Regions from separate parts of the Homo sapiens genome. Here all the other regions are linked to region 3. Evidence: promoter capture Hi-C in 16 types of primary human blood cells and fetal thymus (Javierre and others, 2016). All regions are on one chromosome and are shown on one strand. Each heading gives the region's core, a stretch centred on a gene start or on the middle of the fragment in contact. The rest is flanking DNA. Distances are from core to core; before and after follow the strand shown. Region 1 holds the start of FLJ12825 (a long non-coding RNA gene). Region 2 has its middle 8.8 kb from the start of MIR615. Region 3 holds the start of HOXC13 (homeobox C13).

The links. The method cuts DNA at HindIII sites, captures the fragments that hold promoters and counts their contacts. A CHiCAGO score of 5 or more calls a contact.
Region 1: a contact is called between a fragment that was not itself captured here and the fragment with the promoter of HOXC13 in region 3, in 1 of 17 cell types (total B cells). The highest score is 5.1, in total B cells.
Region 2: a contact is called between a fragment that was not itself captured here and the fragment with the promoter of HOXC13 in region 3, in 2 of 17 cell types (naive B cells and total B cells). The highest score is 5.4, in naive B cells.

The regions. Positions count from the first base shown.
Region 1 is chr12:54,057,869-54,060,796 of GRCh38, forward strand. It overlaps FLJ12825 (a long non-coding RNA gene), which reads left to right and starts at 386. Exons shown (of 2, transcript NR_026655.1): 1 at 386-696. RefSeq lists an enhancer at 1-284. The HindIII fragment of the contact is 9,317 bases long and covers 1-2,928 here.
Region 2 is chr12:54,041,256-54,044,303 of GRCh38, forward strand. It overlaps a transcript of HOXC4 not described here. Among named protein-coding and RNA genes, the nearest start is that of MIR615, 8.8 kb to the left of the region's middle. The HindIII fragment of the contact is 4,734 bases long and covers 1-3,048 here.
Region 3 is chr12:53,937,304-53,940,395 of GRCh38, forward strand. HOXC13 (homeobox C13) reads left to right here and starts at 1,528. Exons shown (of 2, transcript NM_017410.3): 1 at 1,528-2,339. The coding sequence starts at 1,604. It overlaps HOXC13-AS (HOXC13 antisense RNA), which reads right to left and starts at 2,340. Exons shown (of 3, transcript NR_047507.1): 1 at 2,168-2,340; 2 at 1-54. The HindIII fragment of the contact is 9,814 bases long and covers 1-3,092 here.

The DNA of each region.
Region 1 (2,928 bases), core at 266-2,765, 120 kb after region 3:
CCTTCTGTTCTTTCTGGTCTGAAAAGGGGAAACATCAGAAATCCATAATTCTTGACAAATGAACCCAAACTAAAATCCCTTACATTTGAGTTTGAAGATTTTGGCCTCTGGCCTTCCCTCCAGTGGGCTCCATTTTCTCCCCTTTCCCCAAAGCTCTCCTTTGCCTTGGACTTGGCAACCCAGAATGGCATGGCAGGGTTGGGATGTGGGGGGCCAGTCTGGGCCGAGGGCCCCAAGCTCCAGCAGTCTTGGTCCCTGCTGCTCTGCCTGATGCTGCTACAGCCTCGCTGGGAAGCTGAGGGCTGGGCTTTTATTTAAGTTGGGTTGAGCAGTGGGGAAAGGCTGGGGGGAGGACACAGCCCAGGTTCACGGGGAGGACACAGCATTTTCTCTCCCATTGCCTTTATATTCGGCAGCGCCTCTGACCTCTCCCCCACCCCCATCTCTGACCCTCCCAAGCCAGCCCTTGCTCAGCCCTGGTCTCCAGATAGGATGCCACTGCTTTTGTAGGACTGGGGATTTCTTGCCCAGAGTAATGGGAGAGGCAAGGCGCATGAATGCCTGTAAGTGCATTGTATCCCTCTCTCTTCAATGGCTAAGTAAAAAGAAGACGGGTGAAATGTCGACACCAATCTTCCAGGGTTCCTTCTCTCCAAGCGCCAGGAGATCCCCACAGGCCAAAGATCCCATTGACACGTAAGTAGTTAGCACTCGGTCTGCTCTGGGGGTGAGGAGCACAAAAGTTTAAACTCTTATTTGCCACTCAATTTTTGTCTCAACTCCCGGTCTTAGGCAGGGAAGGCGGGAAATCCAATTGTAAGCGGAGGGGTTCTGCTTGGAGAAAAAGACGGTTCTGTGCTGAGTCTGTGTACCTGGGGAGTAAAGAAATTTGGCTCAAAAAAGAGAGAGTCTGAGAAAGTGAGACTGAGGGAAAAGGACTGGGGCACTTTGCCTTTCCGAGGGTCTCTTGCTGCTGTTTGTGTGAAGTTTCCTACAAAGTTTTCTCTGCAATCTGTGCTTCAGTTTTCTTTCTGCTTGGACTTGGCAGATTGAAATCCAGAGACAGCTTCCCACAGCTAGGGGTGTGTGTGTGTGTGTGTGTGTGTGTGTGTGTGTGTGTGTTGGGGGGAGTTGTAGGGAAGTGAAAACAATTAAAAGGTTTGCTGGGAGCTTGGAGCCAGGGTGTCCTTCTCTGCTTTTCTAGGATTAGGGGAGACTGACTCTGAAAGGGGCCCTTAAGATCAAGGGTGCTATGACGGGGAGGAGCAGTGCGCTGGAGCAACTGTACCATCTTTTTCTCTGCCTTTTGCCCAGTCCTGGGGGAGCAAGCTATTGCACTCACAAAACCACCGCTCCGGGTTTTCCACAGCTTCTATCTGGCACTGCACCTATGGAGAGCTAATTTTAATTTAAATGTTCCCCTTCCAAGAGACCCCTCTCAGGCTTGGAATGAGAGATGGAAGATCCCTGAACACCAGAACTCCAGCGGCCACCAGAGCAGAGGGAATATTTATTACCTCTCTGGATGTCATTACCTAAGAATACAATTTTATGAACTTCCTAATCTGTTAGCTTGATTTATCTGGATGGGCAGGAGCCCAAAATAAACATTTGGGGGATTTGTTAAAAAAAAAAAAAGTCTTTGCCTCTTACCAATGTTTTTGATAGAGCTGACCACCCTTCTCAGCCTGCTTTTTCTGCACCCTGCATTGCCAGCCCCATTTTGATTTTTCTCCTGCAGCGTGTGGCTGCTCCGGGTGTTGGAGTTTTAGCTGCCTCTTGATAATTAAAAATGGGGGCAGTGAACTCTGAGCTACAGATCTGTGAGGAGCCCTCGAACATTTTAAAACCTGCGCAGCTCAAGGAGCTCAGACCCCTTTGGAGCTTGGGGAGCAGAAAGAAGCTAAAGCTGATCTGGAGCTTTGCTCATCAGCCCTCCAATGCCAGGAGCCCCTGGCTCTCCCTCCACTCCTCCGGGTTTTTCTTCTCTTCTCTCTGGTGTCAGTTCCGTAGCTCTTTGAACGCAGGGCCAATCCAGCAGAGCCCACATCCAGGCCTGCCGGGATAAGGGCCTCTGCAGCCTCATCTTCCTGCTTCCACTTTCTGCCAGGCCTGGAGGATAAATCAGGAGGAAGGGAAGACAAGGATGGGTAGGGAATATCAGACTATGTTTGAGGGCGATTAGGGTTACAGAGCCTAATAAAGAGGAAGGGACTATTTTAAATTTCCGGGCCCCATCAACAATTTTCAGATTCCTGAATAGGCAGCATCCTCTAGGGTCAGCTCTGCCTGCCTCGATGGGGTATGAGTGAAGCCAAAATAGTGTCGCTTCTACTCACTCCTCCTTTCTGACTCCCTCTTTTCCCAGCATCAAAGATCGGGAGAGGAAAGTATACAGTATTTTAATTTCCAGGCAGAAAAAAACCCTGGAACCGAGTGTGCAGGAGGCACTGCCAGATAGCCAAACCCTAGGTTCCACTCTGGAGCTCTGGCTTCCCGGGAAGCCTGGCCGCGAGAGAATGGGGCAAAATGTGACTGTCTTCATGGGGTGGGGGTGTCCCAGCTCCCCTTCTCACAGAGGCCAGGGTCTTGAGGATCGCGAAATGGGGCCAGCCGGGGCAAAGACGAAGTTTCAAGGGCCAGCGGCAGCCAGGCTCCTCCTCTGGGTTCCACGCCACGTCCGCCCTGGGCGCGGTGTCGCCTTCAGCTGGGTCACGACCCCGGGCTTGGGCGGACAATAGGGGCGCGGGGCGGGGAGCGCGGGATGCGTGGCCAGCTGAGCGGGTTCACTGCGCGGTGAACTCCGCTGGGCCTGAGGGTCTCGCCCTTTAGATCCCAGCCTCTCCTTTCTTCCTCCTATCTCACCTTCCATCTTTTCGTGGAAAATTGAGAGGACCCTCAATCGCTCCTTGACCAATACCCTACGGC
Region 2 (3,048 bases), core at 88-2,587, 100 kb after region 3:
TTTCCTGAACACTTGGGCTGGGCCCTGAGCCAGTCCACTGCTGGGTCCAGACCCAGGTATTCTCCCCCAGCCACTTCTCTAGAGCTTTGTTTCAGAGTGAATTTTCTGGTTGGGTTCTCCTCCCCTTCTCTTCCTGATCTCTTGCCCTCTTTGAGCTAAGGGGCAGGAGTTCTGATGGACTGTGGCACCTGGACCTCTAAGCACCCCCCTGGGGGCATTAAGAGTACAAGAATGGGAAGGATAGTCCGGACTGAGCTGGGCTTTGTCAACAATCCCCTCATTGTTTGTCTTCTGGATGGAGCTGGTTTGGGGACAATGCCACAGGCCAGGTGGGAAGGATAAGGATGAGAAGCCAGAAAAAGAGCAGCTCTTCTCAGAAATCATTGAGCCCTCACTTTTCAAGTTACCTTCAACCACACTGCTCCATCTGCTTATTTTGAGACTAAGTTTCACTCTTGTCGCCCCGGCTGGAGTGCAATGGCACAATCTCGGCTCATCGCAAACTCTGTCTCCTGGGTTCAAGTGATTCTCCTGCCTCAACCTCCCAAGTGGCTGGGATTACAGGTGCCCACCACCACACCCAGTTAATTTTTGTATTTTTGGCAGAGATGAGATTTAATCATGTTGCCCAGGCTGACCTCAGGTAATCCACACGCCTCATCCTCCCAAAGTGCTGAGATTACAGGTGTGAACCACCGCGCCCAGCCTTTTCTTTTCTTTTCTTTTTTTTTTTTTTTTTTGAGATGGAGTTTCACTCTTGTTGCCCAGGCTATAGTGCAATGGCAGGATCTCAGCTCACCGCAAACTCTGCCTCCTGGGTTCAAGCGATTCTCCTGCCTCAGCCTCCTGAGTAGCTGGGATTAGAGGCATGCACCACCACGCCTGGCTAATTTTGTATTTTTAATAGAGACAGGGTTTCTCCGTGTTGGTCAGGCTGGTCTCAAACTCCTGACATCAGATGATCCGCCTGCCTTTGCCTCCCAAGGTGCTGGGATTACAGGCATGAGCCACCGTGGCCAGCCCCATTTGCCTCTTTTATGAGTTAGAATTAAAGGACACACTTATTCTTCCCCAGTGAATGGTGTGGCAGATTGTTGGAGACCAACTCTCACCCTCAATGTGGACTTCTCACACTGGGGTACCAGATCTCATGAAGAGTTAGGAAACAAAGACAGGGGGAGATTGGTTCTATCCACACAGGCACTGGGAAAAGAGATTTTGTGAGTGCCTCGACCCCTCCTTGTGAGTGCCTCAAAAAGGTAAACTTTCTCTTTTTGACTGTCGTTCTCTGTAACTGCTTTGGACTGAGTTTTTGAGAGGGGGAATGCTGAAACATCATTGTTCTAGGATTTAATTAGGTCCTTTTTGCTGAGAAGACAAGCACCACCACCCTGAGCCTCTTCTTTAGTGGGACTAGGGCCCCTGAAGCCCTTTGAGGTGAAGGAGAAAGAAAATCTGAAATCAGGGTGCCAAACTAGGGTTTTGGGGTGAATGATTCAATTTAAGGAGAAGACGATGCTGTTTGAGAGCCAAGAAAGTCACATCCTTTCCTACCCCTCCCAACTTTTATTGGCTCCTTGTGACCCACATTGGTGTGTCTGTACTGATACTATCTCTGCTAGCAGCTTTGATGGGGCTCCAGGAGCCCAAGGAATTGCCAGACAAGGTCTGGGTTGAGGAACTTCGGTGATACAAATCTCTTTATTTTTGAGGCCTACACAACCCTTGTAATCATCTCCCTCTCCCAATCCTAAGGTTCACTGAGAGGCAAAAGGGGAACAGAGATACCTCAGAGGAAGCGGTATGGGTGTGCAATGTGGGACTTGGGAAAATTGGACTCGGTTATGCAGGACCTTGTTCAGCCTCTAAGGACCACATTTTAGCAGCTATGAGAAGAGGTTGAACACTTGGGCTGGGCCCTGAGCCGGTCCACTGCTCCAGGCATGCTGGGGAGCAAGTGCAGGGAGAAGGCTGCTTCTCTGCATCTGTACACATGTACAGAGAAAGTTCTACAGTGATCTGCAACCCCATATGGGCTGGGTGAAATGTGTAGCCTGGTCACCTAGGATCCTTTCAGTTCTGCACCACAGGTCTCAGAGAGGCAGTTCAGGCTTGGTTCTGCCCTCTAAAGATTCTCATTTACCCCAGCCCCTGGCCCTGAACACCAGAATACCTGAACACACAGAAACACATATATGTGCCCAAGGATGGTATGGTAGAGGTCAGAAGCCTGGGCTGGACACAGTAACCAGCATGGAACCAACTTCCCACTCCTCCCTCCCACTCCATTCTTCCCGTCAGCCCAGCTTGGAAACCATTTGTCCTCCCCACCCCACCCCCACCCCTCAAGCCCTGCGCAGCTGTTGAGTTTCCTTCCTTCTGCCTTTCTGGAAAACTCAAACGCTAGAGCTGACTCCAGGGATGGTGGCAGCCAGGCTTTCTGTGATCTTCAGTGTTGTGTTGGCCCAGATTGAGTTGTCAGGAGTTGAAGAGACATGGAGGGTCCAAGGAGGCCAGAATCTTATCTGATCTAATCCCCCTCTCCTTCTGTTCCAAGCTCAAACTCCAAACTCCTCAGGGCTCCCTTGCTCAGACATTAGAGATAAATCTTGTCTAGTAAATACTTCTTTTAAAAGTCAACTTTCTGGCTGGAAAACACAGGCTGTGTGTGTGTGTGTGTGTGTGTGTGTGTGTGTGTGTGTGTGTGTGTGTTTAGGGAGTAGTAAGGGTCAGGTCTTTCATTTTATGTTGTGTCTCTCCCCATCCCCTGGGTGGAGGATGGGGGCACAGGCTGAGGTTTTATTGAGGGTGCTTTTCCTGTTGGGAGTAAAGACAGGGTCATAAACGCCTAGAGTAGGGTGTTTTGATCTGGTGACTTCTCAGGAAGTAGCATCTGAGGTTTTGCTTTGTAAATCACTCTCCCCCAAAGCTGGCTTGGCAGATTGGATTGCACTTCCCCAAGCCCACCTGAGGCCCCTCCTTTCCTCCCTTCCCCAGTAAACTAAAGGAGAAATATAACAGAGCATCTGGAGTCTTCAAAATCCTCTG
Region 3 (3,092 bases), core at 278-2,777:
CTCTGTGGCCATGGTCTGTGCGCTGGCTGCACACGAGCACTCAGCATTTAAAACCTGTGGCAGAGGGAGGAAAGAAGGAAACGCTGCAGCCCCTTTCCCCTCTTATTTTTCTCTCTTCATTACGATTTCTCAGGGAGGTCCTGTGCTGAAAGGGAACTTGACTCAATTCCACGGAGATGCTCCCTTAGAAAGGGGTGACTCTATTGAGGCTCCTGACAAGTTGGGAGATTGGGAGGAAAGAAGGGAGAGCTTTTGAAGAATCAGTAAGTTGGTGTTAATTTTTTCTTTGAAATAGGGGGCAGTTTTAGATCATGAAACTATTCCTCACTAAAAGAGGGTGACCTAAGAAAGCCGTGGGAGCTCCATTGCGGGTATTCAAACTGGGGACTGTGTCATGTGGCTTAACCCAGGCCCCTGAGGGCAGAGGTGGGTTCTGCAGGGTCCCCCAGAGTGGCGCCAGAGAGAGGTCCCTCCAAAGGTGTAGCACTGAATCTCCCCCATTTTCCACGTTTTCTTTTGTATACCTATAGAAAGCGCGCTCTCCTTCGCATCCAGGGCTTTTAGCTTTCCCAGGCTGAATCTTGCGCCCCCACCACCCGCATTTCTTTGAAAAACCTCACTCTGAGATTTTTTATTTCTATTACATATTGAAATATCAGTCTATTCTATTGCTTTTATTTCCCTCGTTTTATTCTTTCTCCATTTATTGCCGAGTATATTCCATTGCCTCTCGATCCCCTGCCCCAGGTGATGAATTCTGTATTTGGGGGTTGTCACACCCCTCTCCGCTTGAGAAAAATCCAGCGAGGTAAAGCAGAGTGTCCTTTTCAGACATCTAGAGTTTTGGGGAATGTGGCTGAAGGTAGGAAATGGAAACACAATCCCGGCATCAAAGGCTCGCTACGCAGCATCGGGTTCTTTCCAGCCGCGAGCGGAGGCGAGCTGCCAGGGCCAGAGCGCTCCTGACTGTTTTCTATTATCTTCATTTATTATTTTTTAAAACCTGGTTTCTTCCCCACCCTTAGCTTCAAGCCCCAATCCAGAGACTTCAGCAGTCACAGTGATCGGCTTGGCGGTAGGGGGTCTGTCTCTCCGGTGCACATCCTATGCCTAGGCGGAGGCGCCCAGTTACAGCGCTCTCCTCCCTACACCCCTTTGCGTCGGCCAAATTCAGCCTCCCCCCCCTCCCTCTCCCTCCCTGGGGCCTGCCGGGGGCGTCTCCCTGTCCCTTTAAATCTCCCAGCTCCCGCCTCCTTTGGCCTACCTGAGATCCAATCAGCACAGACTTTTTCCCTTTCGCCCCGCCCCACCTCGAGGGGAGGGAACCCCAGGAGACCTGGCCGGGGCATCACGTGCGCAGAGCGGGTCACGTGGGCGCGGGAGGGGTGCTGAGAGGTGGAGAGCGGGAGCCGGCGGATTTCTTAATGAAGTGTCTCCGCATGCGTAGAGGGAATGTAGGGAGGGAGGTGGAAGCACTAGGAGGAGGGGAGGGGTGGAGAGAAAAGAGGGGAGGGATGGGGGGAGGGGAAACAGGAGCGAGGTGTCTCCCTAGCTCGCTGCCTCTGGCAAGTGGAGTTTTTAAAAAGCTCCAGCAGATCATGTCATGACGACTTCGCTGCTCCTGCATCCACGCTGGCCGGAGAGCCTTATGTACGTCTATGAGGACAGCGCGGCGGAGAGCGGCATCGGCGGCGGCGGCGGAGGAGGAGGCGGCGGCACGGGCGGAGCGGGGGGTGGCTGCAGCGGAGCGAGCCCCGGCAAAGCCCCGAGCATGGATGGTCTGGGCAGCAGCTGCCCGGCCAGCCACTGCCGCGACCTGCTTCCGCACCCCGTGCTGGGCCGCCCGCCGGCTCCCCTGGGCGCCCCTCAGGGCGCCGTCTATACGGACATCCCGGCCCCGGAGGCGGCGCGCCAGTGTGCCCCGCCGCCCGCACCCCCCACCTCGTCCAGCGCCACCCTGGGCTACGGCTACCCCTTCGGGGGCAGCTACTACGGCTGCCGCCTGTCGCACAACGTGAACCTGCAGCAGAAGCCTTGCGCCTACCACCCGGGCGATAAATACCCGGAGCCGTCGGGCGCCCTGCCCGGTGACGACCTGTCCTCTAGGGCCAAGGAGTTCGCCTTCTACCCCAGCTTCGCCAGCTCCTACCAGGCGATGCCCGGCTACCTGGACGTGTCGGTGGTGCCCGGGATCAGCGGGCACCCGGAGCCGCGTCACGACGCCCTCATCCCCGTCGAAGGCTACCAGCACTGGGCTCTCTCCAATGGCTGGGACAGTCAGGTGTACTGCTCCAAGGAGCAGTCGCAGTCCGCCCACCTCTGGAAGTCTCCCTTCCCAGGTAAGGAAGGGACCCGAGCGCCGCCGCCGCCGGGGACCCCTCCCCGCCCTGCCTGCCCCGGGGCTCCGCGCCCCAACCACCCCCGCCGTCTGGCCCCGGCGCGCCCGCTCGGCTGGGCTGCCTATGGAGCCGGCCGGGCGAGCTGCACTGAGGAATGCGCCGGGGAAGAAATCTGCTCCGACACGTTCTCTGTAGCTGCCCGGCCGAGAATGAAGCAATCACAGGCGCCCGAAAGCCGGGCCGCCGGCTCTGCTCTGTCCGGTAGCTCGCCTCCGCCTCCCCTTGCAGGCTCCAGCCTCCCGCCGGGCTCTTGGCCCCTAAACCTGCTTCCGGCAAGGGATGGGGGCGGGGTGGGCCTATAGTGCCTTGGAATCCAGGACAAAACCCCCAACCCACCGAATAACTGGGGAGGGCGGAGAATAAGAACCCCCACTTTCTTTGACAGAATTCGCAGGATCGTTCAGGCACTAGACAGTATTTTTTAAATAGGGGACTAATTTGCTGGGGTCTACAGAAATGTGAGATTTATTTTTTTCCTTTCCTGACTTATTTTAAAAATCTGGCCACGAATTTCCTGATTGTTGAGGGAACAGAAGATCCAAAATCTCTGGAGAGGGAGTGGAGAGGAGGCTAGAATCCCTCCCCAGCATTGTAAAGTTTTCCTTGCCTCTTTGGTATATTGAGCTCAAACCTATAGACATTTCCACTGCCAACTCCCCCATATGTGGTCGAGAAAGAGAGTTAGTTATTGGT